3 separate regions of the Homo sapiens genome follow, and regions 1 and 3 are each linked to region 2. Evidence: promoter capture Hi-C in human tissues and cell types (Jung and others, 2019). All regions are on one chromosome and are shown on one strand. Each heading gives the region's core, a stretch centred on a gene start or on the middle of the fragment in contact. The rest is flanking DNA. Distances are from core to core; before and after follow the strand shown.

The links. Contacts are between HindIII fragments. The study calls those that stand out against the background at their distance.
Region 1: a contact is called between the fragment with the promoter of COL5A3 here and a fragment that was not itself captured in region 2, in 2 of the 25 tissues and cell types used here (lymphoblastoid cells and spleen).
Region 3: the fragment with the promoter of OR7D2 here is called in contact with a fragment that was not itself captured in region 2 in 3 of the 25 tissues and cell types used here (IMR-90 fibroblasts, adrenal gland and lymphoblastoid cells).

What each region holds. Positions count from the first base shown.
Region 1 is chr19:10,009,189-10,014,106 of GRCh38, forward strand. COL5A3 (collagen type V alpha 3 chain) reads right to left here and starts at 1,316. Exons shown (of 67, transcript NM_015719.4): 1 at 1,110-1,316. The coding sequence starts at 1,197. It overlaps RDH8 (retinol dehydrogenase 8), which reads left to right and starts at 4,295. Exons shown (of 6, transcript NM_015725.4): 1 at 4,295-4,412. The coding sequence starts at 4,310. RefSeq lists an enhancer at 4,916-4,918. The HindIII fragment of the contact is 11,359 bases long and covers 1-4,918 here.
Region 2 is chr19:9,623,201-9,627,719 of GRCh38, forward strand. It overlaps ZNF561-AS1 (ZNF561 antisense RNA 1), which reads left to right. Exons shown (of 4, transcript NR_122038.1): 2 at 3,584-3,660. Among named protein-coding and RNA genes, the nearest start is that of ZNF561-AS1, 4.0 kb to the left of the region's middle. The HindIII fragment of the contact is 4,441 bases long and covers 1-3,524 here.
Region 3 is chr19:9,175,981-9,180,432 of GRCh38, forward strand. OR7D2 (olfactory receptor family 7 subfamily D member 2) reads left to right here and starts at 2,999. Exons shown (of 3, transcript NM_175883.4): 1 at 2,999-3,143. The HindIII fragment of the contact is 33,183 bases long and covers 1-4,452 here.

The DNA.
Region 1 (4,918 bases), core at 66-2,565, 390 kb after region 2:
TGTGTGTGTGTGTGTGTTGGGAGACTGAGCTCACCTTAGAAAGGGATTTCCAGGAGGACCTAGTCTAGGGTCTCTCAGATCAGGGAAGCCCCATCTCCAACACTTGAGAAGCTACGCCATCCCCTGACTCCCGAAGCGCCCCCCACTCTGAACCCTGAGGGGCGGGACAGGGCGCCCAGCCAGATGCGCGCAGCTGGGCGTGCGTCAGCGCTGACTCACCCATCCGGCGGCCCCCGGGACCCCTTGGGGGCTCCTGAGAAATTCCTCGGGAAAAACACCCAAGGCTCCAGCAGCTGGGGTGGGGAGGGGGGGAGCAACTTCCACTCCTGCCCCGCCCTGCGCCCCGCCCCGTCTCGCCCCTCACCGCGGCCCTCCCCGAAGCCCTGTCCATGGTGCTGATCGCGGCTCTGGGGACCGCGGGGTGGGGGAGGGGGCAACAGGGAGGGAGGGGAGGAGATGGGCGCTCGCCAATTTGGGGCAGAGGAGGAAAAGGGAGAATGAGGTGAAGCCATTTAAAGAGACGCAAAGGAAACTGTGGGTTCCCGAAGAGCACCCCCCAATACTTGTCCCCACCCACCTTCATCCTCATGGGCAATTATTTGCACCCAAAAATCATAACTACACCCCTCATAGCGGCACTCAGAGACACACAATCACACGCATAACCACTCACACGGTTACCCTCGAAAATCAGCACATAGACAAGAGCACAAGTGCATACTCACCTGTCGCAATACACACCGTCCCAGCACTGCCCTGTCACTCACAGTCACACTATCACCATCAACCTCCACACGCAAGCACATACGCAACTTCACTCCAAATGCACACACATGCTACACACACATACACACATGCACACACCTGCACATTGCATGCATTCCCACGCGCTCGCCAGAAAACGCACTCACACATCCCCACCCCCACCCCGAGCTGTCACACCCACAAATCACCCAGAGTCAGATACTCATGCGCCCACATCACACCGGGGCCGCACGCGGCGCCCACGCCCTTCCCCTCCACGCCCCTCCACCCCCCTCCACCCCTCGCTCTTTTAGAGCCTCTCTGAGTCGTGGACCCTGGGTCCCATCTCTTCCCTCCCGGCTCACCGGCCTGCGTCCCCGGCAGAAGCTGCAGCGCGGCCAGGAGCAGGCAGAGACCGGCCCGCGGCTGGCCCAGGTCCCGGCGGTTCCCCATCCCGGCGGGGCCCACGGGCAAGGCGGGGAACCAGTCGGGGCGGCTGCGGGGCGCGGCGACTTCTCGGGCTCGGTGCAGTCACTCGCGGCGGCCGCTCCTCTCAGGGTCCGCGGGAAACTGCCCGAGACCCCGCCCTGGCCTCGCCCTGCGCTCCAGCGCCTGGCCAGGCGGGGCTTTTTGGAGGGGGAGCGCTGACAGCTGGACTGGGAAGTTGGGAAACTTTGTGCTGAGGGCTGATTGGCTGGCTGGGGTGGAGCCCAGCGCCAGGAGCTGGGTTGTTCCTGCCCCACCCCACTGTGGAGGAGAAGGGTCACTCCCACCCAGCCCTAGAGTTCGAGGGTTCCAGTCTTACCCCAAACCTTTTCCGCCTAGCAGATCCCCTCAAAGGAGACCTTAACCTCATTCAAGACTTCAGCCTCCATCCAGGCCCTAGAATTAGGAGGAGGTGCAGCTTTATACCAAATCTTTTTTATTTTCTATTATTTTTACATTTTATTTTGGAGACAGGGTCTTGATCTGTCACCCAAGCTGGAGTGCAGTGGTGCAATCATAGCTCACTGCAGCCTCCAACTCCTGCGTTCAAGCCATCCACCTGCCTCAGCCTCCTGAGAAGCAGGTACCACAGGCACACACTGCCACACCCAGCTAATTTTAAAATATGTATATTTTGTAGAGACCGGGATCTTGCTATGCTGCCCAGGCCGGTCTTGAACTTCTGGTCTCAAGCGATCCTCCGGCCTTGCCCTCCCAAAGCGCTGGAGTTACAGGCATGAGCCACCGCCCCTGGCACCAAGTCCTTTCTGCCTCACTCAGGCCCCCAACTGGGGTCCCAACCTCACCCCGAACTCTCACTCACCTACCTGCTTTATCCTCAGTCCCTCAGCTGCACAATAGGAGGTACCAGCCTCAGCCCCAAAGCCTTTCCTTCAAGTCCCTAACGGGTCCTCATCCCACCTCAAATCTCACCCCAGATCCCAAAATGGGGTCCCCAGCCTTACTCCAAACCTTCATCTGTCCACTCAAATCCCTAAGTCACGTGTCCTGGTCCCAAATTCTCACCACAGATCCCAAAACACAGTTTTCACTTTCCCCAAATTCTTGATTCCTCAAATAAAGGGTCTCATCTCCATCCCTAACCCTCATCTCCCCCCGCCCCAACTCAGGTCTCCAGTGGATGCCCCGGCCTCAATCCCAAATCCCCACCAAATGAGGGAGTCTGAGCTGGGTGCGGTGGCTCATGCCTGTAATCCCAGCATTTTGAGAGGCTGGGGCGGGCAGATCGCTTGAGTCCAGGAGTTAGAGATCAGCTGGCCAACATGGCGAAACCCCATCTCTACTAAAAATACAAAAATTAGCCAGGCATTGTGACTGGCGCCTGTAGTCCCAGCTACTTGGGAGGCTGAGGTGGGAGGATCACTTGAACACGGGAGGTGGAGGTTGCAGTGAGCTGAGGTTGTGCCACTGCGATCCAGCCTGGACAACAGAGCAAGACTCTGTCTGTCTCAAAAAAAAAGGCCGGCGCGTTGGTGGGAGGTGGTGGGAATCTGTCCCTGTCGCAAAGCAACGCACAGCCACTGGGGAGGAAGGGGTGGATTCTTGCCATTCTTGGGATGAGGCAGAGGCCCCCCTCACCGTGCTGGGACCCCCACCTCCAGCATGAAGAGGCCCCCATGAGGTCAAATAGAGCTTTTATGCAATTGGACAAGCGCAGACACGCAGGATGTGAGGGTGTTTCCCCAGGGAGGGGAGGAACCAAGAGGCGTATTCTGAGCCCTGAACTGCTCCCCGAACCCTGCTTCCCCCACCTCCGCCCCAGGGGAAGAGGGAGACGCAAGCAGTGCCTCCCTCCCAGCCTCTGACTCCCCAGACAAAGAGTCTCTGTGTCCCTGAAGAGGAGGGGTTGGGGCCCCATCAAGCCTGAGGGGGAGATGGGGGCCCCCCAGGGTGGGAGGAGGAGAGGGTATCTCTGTAAGCTGTGCCTCCTCCCACCCCAGGGACATCTGAGGCTGAGACTTCTCCAACTAAAAGACTCTCACAAAATTCCTGCCCTGCCCTGCCTTGCTGGAAGTTCTTCCTATAGTCTAACTACATCTTCTGACAGTTCTACACCCCTTCCCTCTATGAAACACTTCTGGATCCACATTCTCTGTCTCCTTCTCTCACTCTCTCCCTTCAATCAGAGATTCTTCACCCAGAATACAGACACTAATTCCCCCCAACTTTCACAGAAACTCTCCCCAGCCCTAAATAATTTATACTCGGCCAGGCTCAGTGGCTCATGCTTGTAATCCCAACACTTTGGGAGGCTGAGGCGGCTGGACCACTTGAGGTCAGGAGTTCAAGACCAGCCTGGCCAACATGGCGAAACCTCATCTCTACTAAAAATACAAAAATTAGCTGGGTGTGGTGGCACACGCCTGTAATCCCAGCTACTCAGGAGGCTGAGGCAGGAGAATCATTTTACCCTGGAAAGCTGAGGTTGTAGTGAGCCGAAATTGCACCACTGCACTCCAGCCTGGGTGACAAGAGCAAGACTCTGTCTCAAAATAATAATAATAATTTACAGTCATAATAAAAATTATAAATTAAGAAAACAGTTACAAATGGCCAAGGCAGGAGGATCACTTGAGGCCAAGAGTTCGAGACCAATCTGGGCAACATAGCAAGATCCCATGTCTAAAAGAAAAAGAAATTTAAAAATTAGCTGGGCATGGTAGTGTGCGCCGGTAGCCCCAGCTACTCTGGAGGCTGAGATAGGAGGATCGCTTGAGGCTGTGGTGAGCTATGATGGTGCCACTGCACTCCAGCCTGAGTGACAGAGCAAGATGCTGTCTCTTAAAAACAAACAAACAAAAACCAGTGATGTCTATAGTAGGTGCGGAGAAGAAATGTTTGGCAGATGAAGAAAATGAGGTGCAGAGAGGATTTAAGAGATTCTCTCTTACTGCCTGTTCAGGGTCAGTCCAGAATTGAGGGTCTCCGGGGGAGGGCAGAGGCTTTGCCCTGCAGGGGATCTGTGGGAGGGGGTTAGGAGGGAGCAGATGAGCCCAGGATGAATGGTCAGAGTCAGGTGCTGCCCGGCGGAGGTCACGAGTCCAGGGAGGGGATCAACATGGCCGCTGCACCCCGGACTGTGTTGATCTCCGGCTGCTCATCAGGAATTGGTCTGGAACTTGCAGTGCAACTGGCCCATGACCCCAAGAAGCGCTACCAGGGTAAGAAGTGCAGGGTGGCACTAGGAGGCAGCCGGGTGGAAACGGCTTCCCCAGCACTGTCTCCCCTACCCATCCCTCCCAGCTGCACTTGTGGGCTTGGGGAGACCCAGGATTCCCTCCAGGAATCATCCCCTCATCCTAGAAATATTTCTTGAGCATCTTCTGGGTGCTCTGAATGCTGGCAACACAACTGGAGATGAAATAGACAAAAATCTCAGCCCTCAGGACGGGTGTCATGTGGGGAGGAGAGGGAGAATGGGTGATAAACAGATAAAAAGAAATTGTTGCTCTATCTGGTGGGAATAAGTGCTGAGACACAAAATAAAGCATGCTGAGAGTGGCAGGGGGTGGGTGGGGGTTATTTTTAGAAGGGTTTCACTAGGGCATTTCCTAGATTGGAATAATCACTACCCTGATGCTCACTCTTCCACGTCTCCCCAGATTATTGCTTTTACTGAGATAAGCTTCTTAAGTGCTCCTGACCTTGGGGGTTGAAGGGATGGCCT
Region 2 (4,519 bases), core at 54-2,553:
GACCAGGCTGGAGTGCAGTGGTGTGATCTCAGCTCACCGCAACCTCCACCTCCCAGGTTCAAGCAATTCTCCTGCCTCAGCCTCTGGAGTAGCTGGGATTACAGGCGCCTGCCACCACGCCCAGCTAATTTTTGTATTTTTAGTAGAGAACGATTTCACCAGGTTGGCCAGGCTGATCTCGAACTCCTGGCCTAAAATATCTGCCAGGCCAAGATGGTAGGATCGTTTAAGGCCAGGAGTTTAAGACAAGCCTGGGCTACACAGCAAAACCCCATCTCTCTATATATATATAAAAAAAATTTAAATTAAAAAATGTTTTGTTTTGTTTTGTTTTTTTGAGACATAGTTTCGCTCTGCCACCCAGACTGGAGTGCAGTGGTGCGATCTTCACTCACTGCAAACTCTGCCTCCTGGGTTCAAGCCATTCTTCTGCCTCAGCCTCCTGAGTAGTTGGGACTACAGGCATGTGCCACTGCGCCCAACTAATTTTTGCATTTTTAATACAGACATGGTTTCATCATATTGACCCAGCTGGTCTCAAAGTCCTGACCTCGTGATCCATCCACCTGGTCCTCCCAAAGAGCTGGGATTACAGGCATGAGCCACTGCCCCAGCCAAAAATATGTATTTCTGTTGTTATTTTTCTGATCTTACCACATGGGCCAGGAACACATTTCCTACGTTGTAAAATAGCACTGATACCAGACATTCTCCCCAAGATTATTCAGAAATGTAACATACTCCCAATAAAAATACCAAAAGTTTTTTTCTGGAGTTAAGTACATTGATACTGAAGTTTATGTGGAGGAACAAACATCTGATAATAACCAAGAAAACAAAAACAAAAGCAATGATGAGCAGCAGATATTAAAACATACTATTGACAGTTTTCATGCAAGGCAAAGAATTACATTATTTTAAAATAAAAATAAAGTCCGGGCACAGTGGCTCACGCCTGTAATCCCAGCAATTTGGGAGGCCGAGGCAGGCAAATTACCTGAAGTCGGGGGTTTGATACCAGCCTGGCTAACATGGTGAAACCCTGTCTCTACTAGAAGTACAAAAATTAGCAAGCGTGGTGGCACATGCTTGTAATCCCAGCTACTTGGGAGGCTGAGGCAGGAGAGTTGCTTGAGCCTGGGAGATGAAGGTTGCAGTGAGCCGAGATTGTGCCACTGAATTGCAGCCTGGCTGACAGAGTGAGACTCTGTCTAAAAAATTAATTAATTAATTAATTTAAAAAACATACTATAAAGCCTCTATAATTAAAACTATGTGGTACTAGCACGTGAAACAGAAACTAATAAAATATCAAAAAATAGACCCATGAACATGTAGAAATTTGGTTCATAAATGTATTTTGCCAGATGCGGTGGCTCATGCCTGTATCCTAGCAATTTGGGAGACTGAGGCAGGAGGATCACTTGAGGTCAGGAGTTCAAAACCAGCCTGCCCAACATGGTGAAACCCCATCTCTATTAAAAATACAAAAACATAGCCGGGTTCGGTGGCTCATGCCTGTAATCCCAGAACTTTGGGAAGCCGAGGCAGCCGGATCATGAGGTCAGGAGTTCGAGACTAGTCTGACCAACATGGTGAAATCCCATCTCTACTAAAAATACAAAAATTAGCTGGGTGTGGTGATGCATGCCTGTAATCTCAGCTACTCAGGAGGCTGAGGCAGGAGAATTGCTTGAACCCAGAAGGCGGAGGTTGCAGTAAGCTGAGATCGCACCACTGCACTCCAGCCTGGGCAACAGAGTGAGACTCTGTCTCAAAAAAGAAAAAAAATTTAGCCAAGCATGGCCGAGCATGCTGGCTCATGCCTGTAATCCCAGCACTTTGGGAGGCTGAGGCAGGCAGATCACGACGTCACGAGATCGAGACCATCCTGGCCAACTTGGTGAAACCCCGTCTCTACTAAAAATAGAAAAATTAGCTGGCATGGTGGCGGGTGCCTGTAATCCCAGCTACTCAGGAGGCCGAAGTAGGAGAATCGCTTGAACCCAGGAGGCGGAGGTTGCAGTGAGCCAAGATCGCTCCCCTGCACTCCAGCCTGGCGATAGAGCGAGACTCCGTCTAAAAAAAAAAAAAAAAAAATTAGCCAAGCGTTGTGGTGGGCGCCTGTAAGCCCAGCTACTCGGGTGGCTGAGGCAAGAGAATTGCTCAAACCTGGGAGGCAGAGGTTGCAGTGAGCCGAGATCACGCCATTTCACTCCAGCCTGGCGACACAGCGAGACTCTGTCTCAAAAAAAAAAAAAAAAAAAAAAAAAAAAGCCGGGTGCATTGGCTGATGCCTATAATTCCAGCACTTTTGGAGGCAGAGGCGGGTGGATCACCTGAGGTCACGAGTTAGAGACCATCCTGACCAACATGAAGAAACCCCGTCTCTGCTAAAAATACAAAATTAGCTGGGCATGGTGGCACATGCTTATAATCCCAGGTACTCAGGAAGCTGAGGCAGGAGAACCGCTTGAACCCAGGAGGCGGAGGTTGGGGTGAGTGGAGATCGTGCCATTGCATTCCAGCCAGGGCAACAAGAGAGAAACACCGTCTAAAAAAAAAAAGTGGCATTTCAGATAAATGGGGCAAAAAATGCCATTTGTAACAAATGGAAGGTCTAAGATAGCTGGTTAGCCATCTGAGAAAAGATGAAATTAAATCCATACTTCACAGCATATACAAGAATAAACTCCAAGTGGACTAGGGATCTAAGTGTAAAAAATAAAACCACACACGTATTTAGGGTGTTTAAGTGATTTCTTGGCTGAGTAAGGAAAAAGATGTTACCACAAGGCGGCAGTAGCACACAAGCTTCATTTGGGATGTGCTTTGACAGGTTAGCAGTGGGGGAGGTAGCAAACAGCAAGAGAATATCCACAGGCTTCTACCTGTGGGTCGCTGCTCAGAAAGGGTGGAAAGGAAGAAAGACTCTCAGAGGAGAAGGGGAATCAAAGAGGGGGCTTATAAATAACTAAATGATGATATTCACCAGACTGGCAGCATATCTTCCAGTTAAAAAGCTCTGAAGGATAAGTCTGGCCAATATGGTGAAACTCCGTCTCTACTAAAAATACAAAAATTAGCAGGTATGGTGCCAGGTGCCTATAATCCCAGCTACTTGGGAGGCTGAGGCAGGAGAATCGCTTGAACCCAGGAGATGGAGGCTGCAGTGAGCTGAGATTGTGCCCCTGTACTCCAGCCTGGGTGGCAGAGCAAGACCCTGCATCAGAAAAAAAAAAAAAAAAAAGCTCTGAAGGACCGCAGGGGTATGGGGTTTTCATAGCCCTGGAGTTATCTTATCTATGGCTGTCAGATATTGGATATAATTTCAGAGAATACAAAGCAGGCGCACTCGAAATGGCTAAAAATAGGCTTGTTCAGGCTATGTTTCAAACAATCCAGTGTGTTAAAATTGCAGTTTGGCAGGGGTAGGCTATTGTGAATACTAGTGAGACAAACATTGGTGTACAAATATCTCTGAGTCCCTGCTCTGAACAGTTTTGGATATGCCAAAGTGGAATATCTGGATCACATGGTAATTCTGTTTAATCGTTCTTTTTTTTTCTTTTTTTTGAGACAGGGTCTCACTCTATTGTCTAGGCTCGAATGCAGTGACGTGATCATGGATCACTGCAGTCCTCAACTTACTGGGCTCAGGTAATCCTCCCACCTCAACCTCCCAGGTAGCAGAGATTACAGGTGCATGCCACCACCATCCTTGGCTGAATTAAAAAAAATTTTTTTGTAAAGACCATATTTCACCATATGCCCAGGCTGGTCCTGAAGTCCTAATCTCAAGGAATCCCCTGGCCTCAGCCTCCCGAAGTGCTGGGATTACAGGTGTGAGCCATCACATCCAGCATGGTTTTGATTTTCATTTTCATGATGTTTAGTGATGTTGAGCATCGTTTCATGAGCATCTTTTCGTGTGTTTATTGGCCATCTGTATATCTTCTTTGGTGATATTATTCAAGTCCTTTTTCTGTATTGAAATGAGTTTTGTTGTTGTTACTCTTGGGTTCTAGAAATTTTAAAAATAAACTCTGGATATTTGTCCCCAGTCAGATACAGGACTTGCAAATATTTTCTCCCATTTGTAGATTGTCTTTTTACTCTCTTGTTATTATGCTTTGATGCACAAAATTTGTATCATTGATTAGGTTCAACTCATAATTTTTCTTGTGTTGCCTGTGTGGTTGATGTCATAACTGAGAAGTCATTTCCAGTTGAAGCTTTCTCACCTATGTTTTCTTCTAATAGTTTTCCAGCTCTAGCTCTTACACTACACTAAGGTTTTTGATCCATTTTTAAAAAATCATGCCACATTATTATTATTATTATTATTAAGATGGAGTCTTGCTCTGTCACCCAGGCTGGAGTGCAGTGGCACAATCTCAGCTCACTGCAAACTCTGCCTCCCAGGTTCAAGTGATTCTCCTGCCTCAGCCTCCTGGGTAGCTGGGATTACAGGCGCCTGCCACCATGGCCAGCTAATTTTTGTATTTTTAGTAGAGAT
Region 3 (4,452 bases), core at 1,749-4,248, 450 kb before region 2:
CAATGTTCGTTTGTTTGCTTGAGACCTGGACTCTGTGAAGTTATTGCCAACCCACAGGGAATTAATCAATTGCAAATGATTTTTGTCCAGTCGAGTTGCAAATTACTTCAATTGCTTCTGTTCAGTTAAAAAGATTACCCCTAAATGGCCAGGCGTCATGGCTCATGCCTGTAATCCCAGCACTTTGGGAGGCCAAGGTGGGTGGATCATTTGAGGCCAGGAGTTTGAGACTAGCCTGGCCAATACGGTGAAACCCCATCTCTACTAAAAATACAAAAATTATCTGGGTGTGGTGGCACATATGCCTGTAATCACAGCTACTACGCCTCAGGAGGCTGAGGTGGGAGAATCACTTGAACCCGAGAGGCAGAGGTTACAGTGAGCTGAGATTGCGCCGCTCACTCCAGCCTGGGTGACAGAGTGAGACTGCACCAAAACAAACAAATGAAAAAAAATGAAATAATGTGTTAATAATTTTATATTAAAAATTATATTTCAGAAAAAATATTTACCCCTTTTTTTTTTAGACGGGGTTCGCTTTTGTTACTCAGGCTGGAGTGCAATGGTGCAATCTCGGCTCACTGCAACCTCCACCTCTTGGGTTCAAGCAATTCTCTCGCCTTAGCTTCCCAAGTAGCTGGGATTACAGGCGCCCACAACCACGCACAGCTAATTTTTTTTTTTTTTTTTTTTTGTATTTTTAGCAGAGACAGGGTTTCACCATGTTGGCCAGGCTGGTCTCGAACTCCTGACCTCAGGTGATCCACCTACCTTGGCCTCCCAAAGTGCTGGGATTACAGGCATGAGCCACCGTACCCGGCCAAGCACATTTTGTTGTATATTTGAAGTACTCGAAATTTATTCCTGCAAACCACACAGATTTTTGTACATTTAATTTTAATTTTAAAAGATCTGTCAGTCATTGACAGATGAATGGATAAACAAAATGTGTGTATATACATATAATATAATGAAATATTTTGTGGCTTTAACAAAGAACATTCTCCTGAGCATGGTGCCTCATGCCTATAATCCCAACACTTTGGGAGGCTGAGGCGGGAGGATCACTCAAGGCCAGGAATATGAGACCAGCCCGGCCAACATGGTGAAACCCCATCTCTACTAAAAATACAAAAATTAGCCGGACATGGTGGCGCACACGTGTAATCCCAGCTACTCGGGAGGCTGAGGCAGGAGAATCGCTTGAACCTCGGAGGTGGAAGTTGCATTCCAGCCTGGGCGACAAGAGTGAGGCTTTGTCTCAAAATAATAATATAAAAATAATAATAATAATAAATAGAAAAACAACAAAAAATAAAAAACAAATTAGCTAATTGGGAGACTGATGTGGGAGGATTGCTTGATCTCAGGTCTTTGGGATTGTAATGAGCTATGATTGTGCCACTGCACTCCAGCCTAGGTGACAGAGTAAGACCCTGACAAAAAAGAAGAAAGAAAAAAAAAGAGAGAGGAGAGAGAGAGAGAAAGAACATTCGGACACATATACAGCATACATGAACCTTGGCAATATTTCACTTAAATGAAATAAGTCAGTCACAAAAAGACAAACAGTGTATACTTCCGTCTATGAAGTAGGTACCACAGTCAGAATTATAGAGACAGAAAGTGGTATGGTGGTTCATTAGGGGCTGGGGAGGGTGAATGAGGGATGAGTGTTACGGGACAGAGTTTCAGCTTGGGGAGATGAGAAGATTCTGAATATGGAGGATAGTGATGGCTGCTGTGAATATACTTAATGCCACTGAATAGTACACTTAAAATGGTTAAGATGGTGAACTGTATGTTATGTATATTTTACCATCATTTTAAAAATTGAAAAAAACTTTTTTCTTATTGTTCAGTTCCTCCCAAACTTGCCATCAATGAAATTTTCCCCATCACTCTACCCAGATCGCTGTTTCTAATGTTTTCCATGCCATTAAATGTGATGGATATTCTTCAGCCTTTATTTTGCTTAGCCTTATAGCATCGTTTTACATGGTTGTTAGAAATAAATCTTGGAGTCATAAAGAAAAATGAGCACTCAAACAAAGGATTTCTCAGCAAAGCAAATTTACTTCTGCGCAGAAGGGTGCTTCTCGTAGGGTTGGCTGCTACAAGAGCACCCTGAACAAAGGAGAGTAGCAACTTTTATTCTTAATGCGACTCTTGACTTTGTGTGTCCTTTCCCCATTGGCTGGGGTCGGACAGCACAATCTAAACTAGACTTGATTGGTTACACATTTAAACTGTCTTAGATAAGGTGGGTGTGTGATGGGAGACAGAGGAGAGGAGGAAGGGGTCTTCTACAGAGGAATAGACAGCTAGTCTATTCTTAAATAAGGAAAGAAATGTGAGCTGGGGCTATGGCATATCTGGGCATGCAGCAAAATCAGAAAGAAGAAAAGGAGAAGAAAGTGTGTGGGGGGGGTACTTGGAATTAGAGAATAAGAAGCTGAGCAGGCTGTTTGAAGAGAAATCTTGCTGTATCTCGCAATGGTTGACTCTCCCTCTCTTGAAACAGGACTTACGACATGTCCACAGCCTGTTTAACGCCCTGCAGCCAACGCGATCACAGGGGATTCACGGAAATAGTTGCATCTCTATTTTCTTCTGTGTTACCTTGAGACCCTTAGGCACTGGGATTACAGAGAGATGGGTCTTTGTAGCTTCTGCGACACATTCCAGAGGGGAAAACCTCTTTATCTCAAAGCCAAACCAATAGTGATGAAAGCTCTTCCAAGAATAAAGAGGCCCCAAGAGGGTGGGAGGTGCAGAGAGAGTCACCTGGCTTCAGAGCTGCCTTCTTGGAAACAGAATTAGAACACATCATACCTTTCTGCCATTTGCTCTTGATCCCAAGGGAGCCGAATGGGTTGGAGAGTAGAACATCACTGGAACAGTGGATTTAATGAGGAAGGATGAGACATCAGCTCCCTGGGGCTTGAGAAACCATAAATACTTCCCTAAAACACCTCACCTGGACAGTTTCCTGACGCCACACTCATGCATCTTAGAGAGGAGAGTTAGGATGACTTCATGACAAGTTCCATCTCCCCGCCTTTCCCTGCTAGATTCTGTCTTCAGCATTCAACAGTCAGGGGAGGAAGACGTCATACCAGCATTTTTTTTTTTCAAGCAATGTCAGTTGAGTGACTCACACTATCCTTGTTAGTACCGTGTGTGAAAAGGATTTAAAAAGTAGTGTGGGGAGGAACAGAGATGGAGGTAACAGGGTTGATAATGTCTCATGATTTTTAAAATGTCTCTAGGATTCCCTTACCTGGTTATAGATGTCTTAAGGCATTGCAACTTTTGGGAGGCTGAGGCAGGCGGATCGCTTGAGGCCAGGAGTCTAAGACAAGCCTGGCCAACTTGGTGAAACCCCATCTCATCTAAAAATACAAAAATTAGCTGGGCATGGTGGCGGATGCCTGTAATCCCAGCTACTCGGGAGCCTGAGTCAGGAGAATGGCTTGAACCCGGGAGACAGAGGTTGCCATGAGCCAAGATCACGCCACTGCACTCCAGCCTGGGTGACAGAGTGAGTGAGACGCTGTCTCAAAAAAAAAAAAAGATTCTATTGCAACTGTTTCTGTCACCTCCACCTCTGATGGCCTTTCATTCTGGAAACTAGTGACTTTCTCAATGTCAGTAGGAACTGGCACTTCCTTGAGTGGATTCCTTTCAGTCTACCTGCTAACACCTTCCTTTTTCTTCTCTAGTATAATATAATAGTTCTCGGCCGGGTGCAGTGGCTCATGCCTATAATCCCAGAACTTTAGGAGGCCGAGGCGGGTGGATCACAAGGTCAAGAGATCGAGACCATCCTGGCCAACATGGTGAAACCCTGTCTCTACTAAAAATACAAAATTAGCCGGGCATGGTGGTGTGTGCCTGTAGTCCCAGCCATTTGGGAGGCTGAGGCAGGGGAATTTCTTGAACCTGGGAGGCAGAGGTTGCAGTGAGCTGAGATTGCACCATTGCACTTCAGCCTGGGCAACAAGAACAAAACTCCGTCTAAAAAAAAAAAAATCAACAAAGCAAAGCAAAACAAAACAAGTATGTATTAAATGTTCACTCTGCACCAGATGTTACATATATTATCATTGCAATTGTGAATGGACTTTTTTTCCTCTTATTTTTTCTCATGGCTGTTTGCAGATACATAAGAAAGCTGATGACACTGATTAGTTGTAATTAATTGTGTTTAAGTTGACTTTTTTTTTTTTTGAGACAGGGTCTTTCTGGGCTCAAGCAAACCTCCTGCCTTGGCCTCCCAAGTAGCTAATTTTTTAAAAATCTATTTTTGTAGAGGCAAGTGTCTCATTTTGTTGTCTAGGCTGGTCTCAAACTCCTGGCCTCAAGAATTTCTCCTGCCTTAGCCTCTCAAAGTGCTGGGATTACAGGCAGGAGTCACAGCACCCAGCCAGGCTGTTACATTTTATTAAA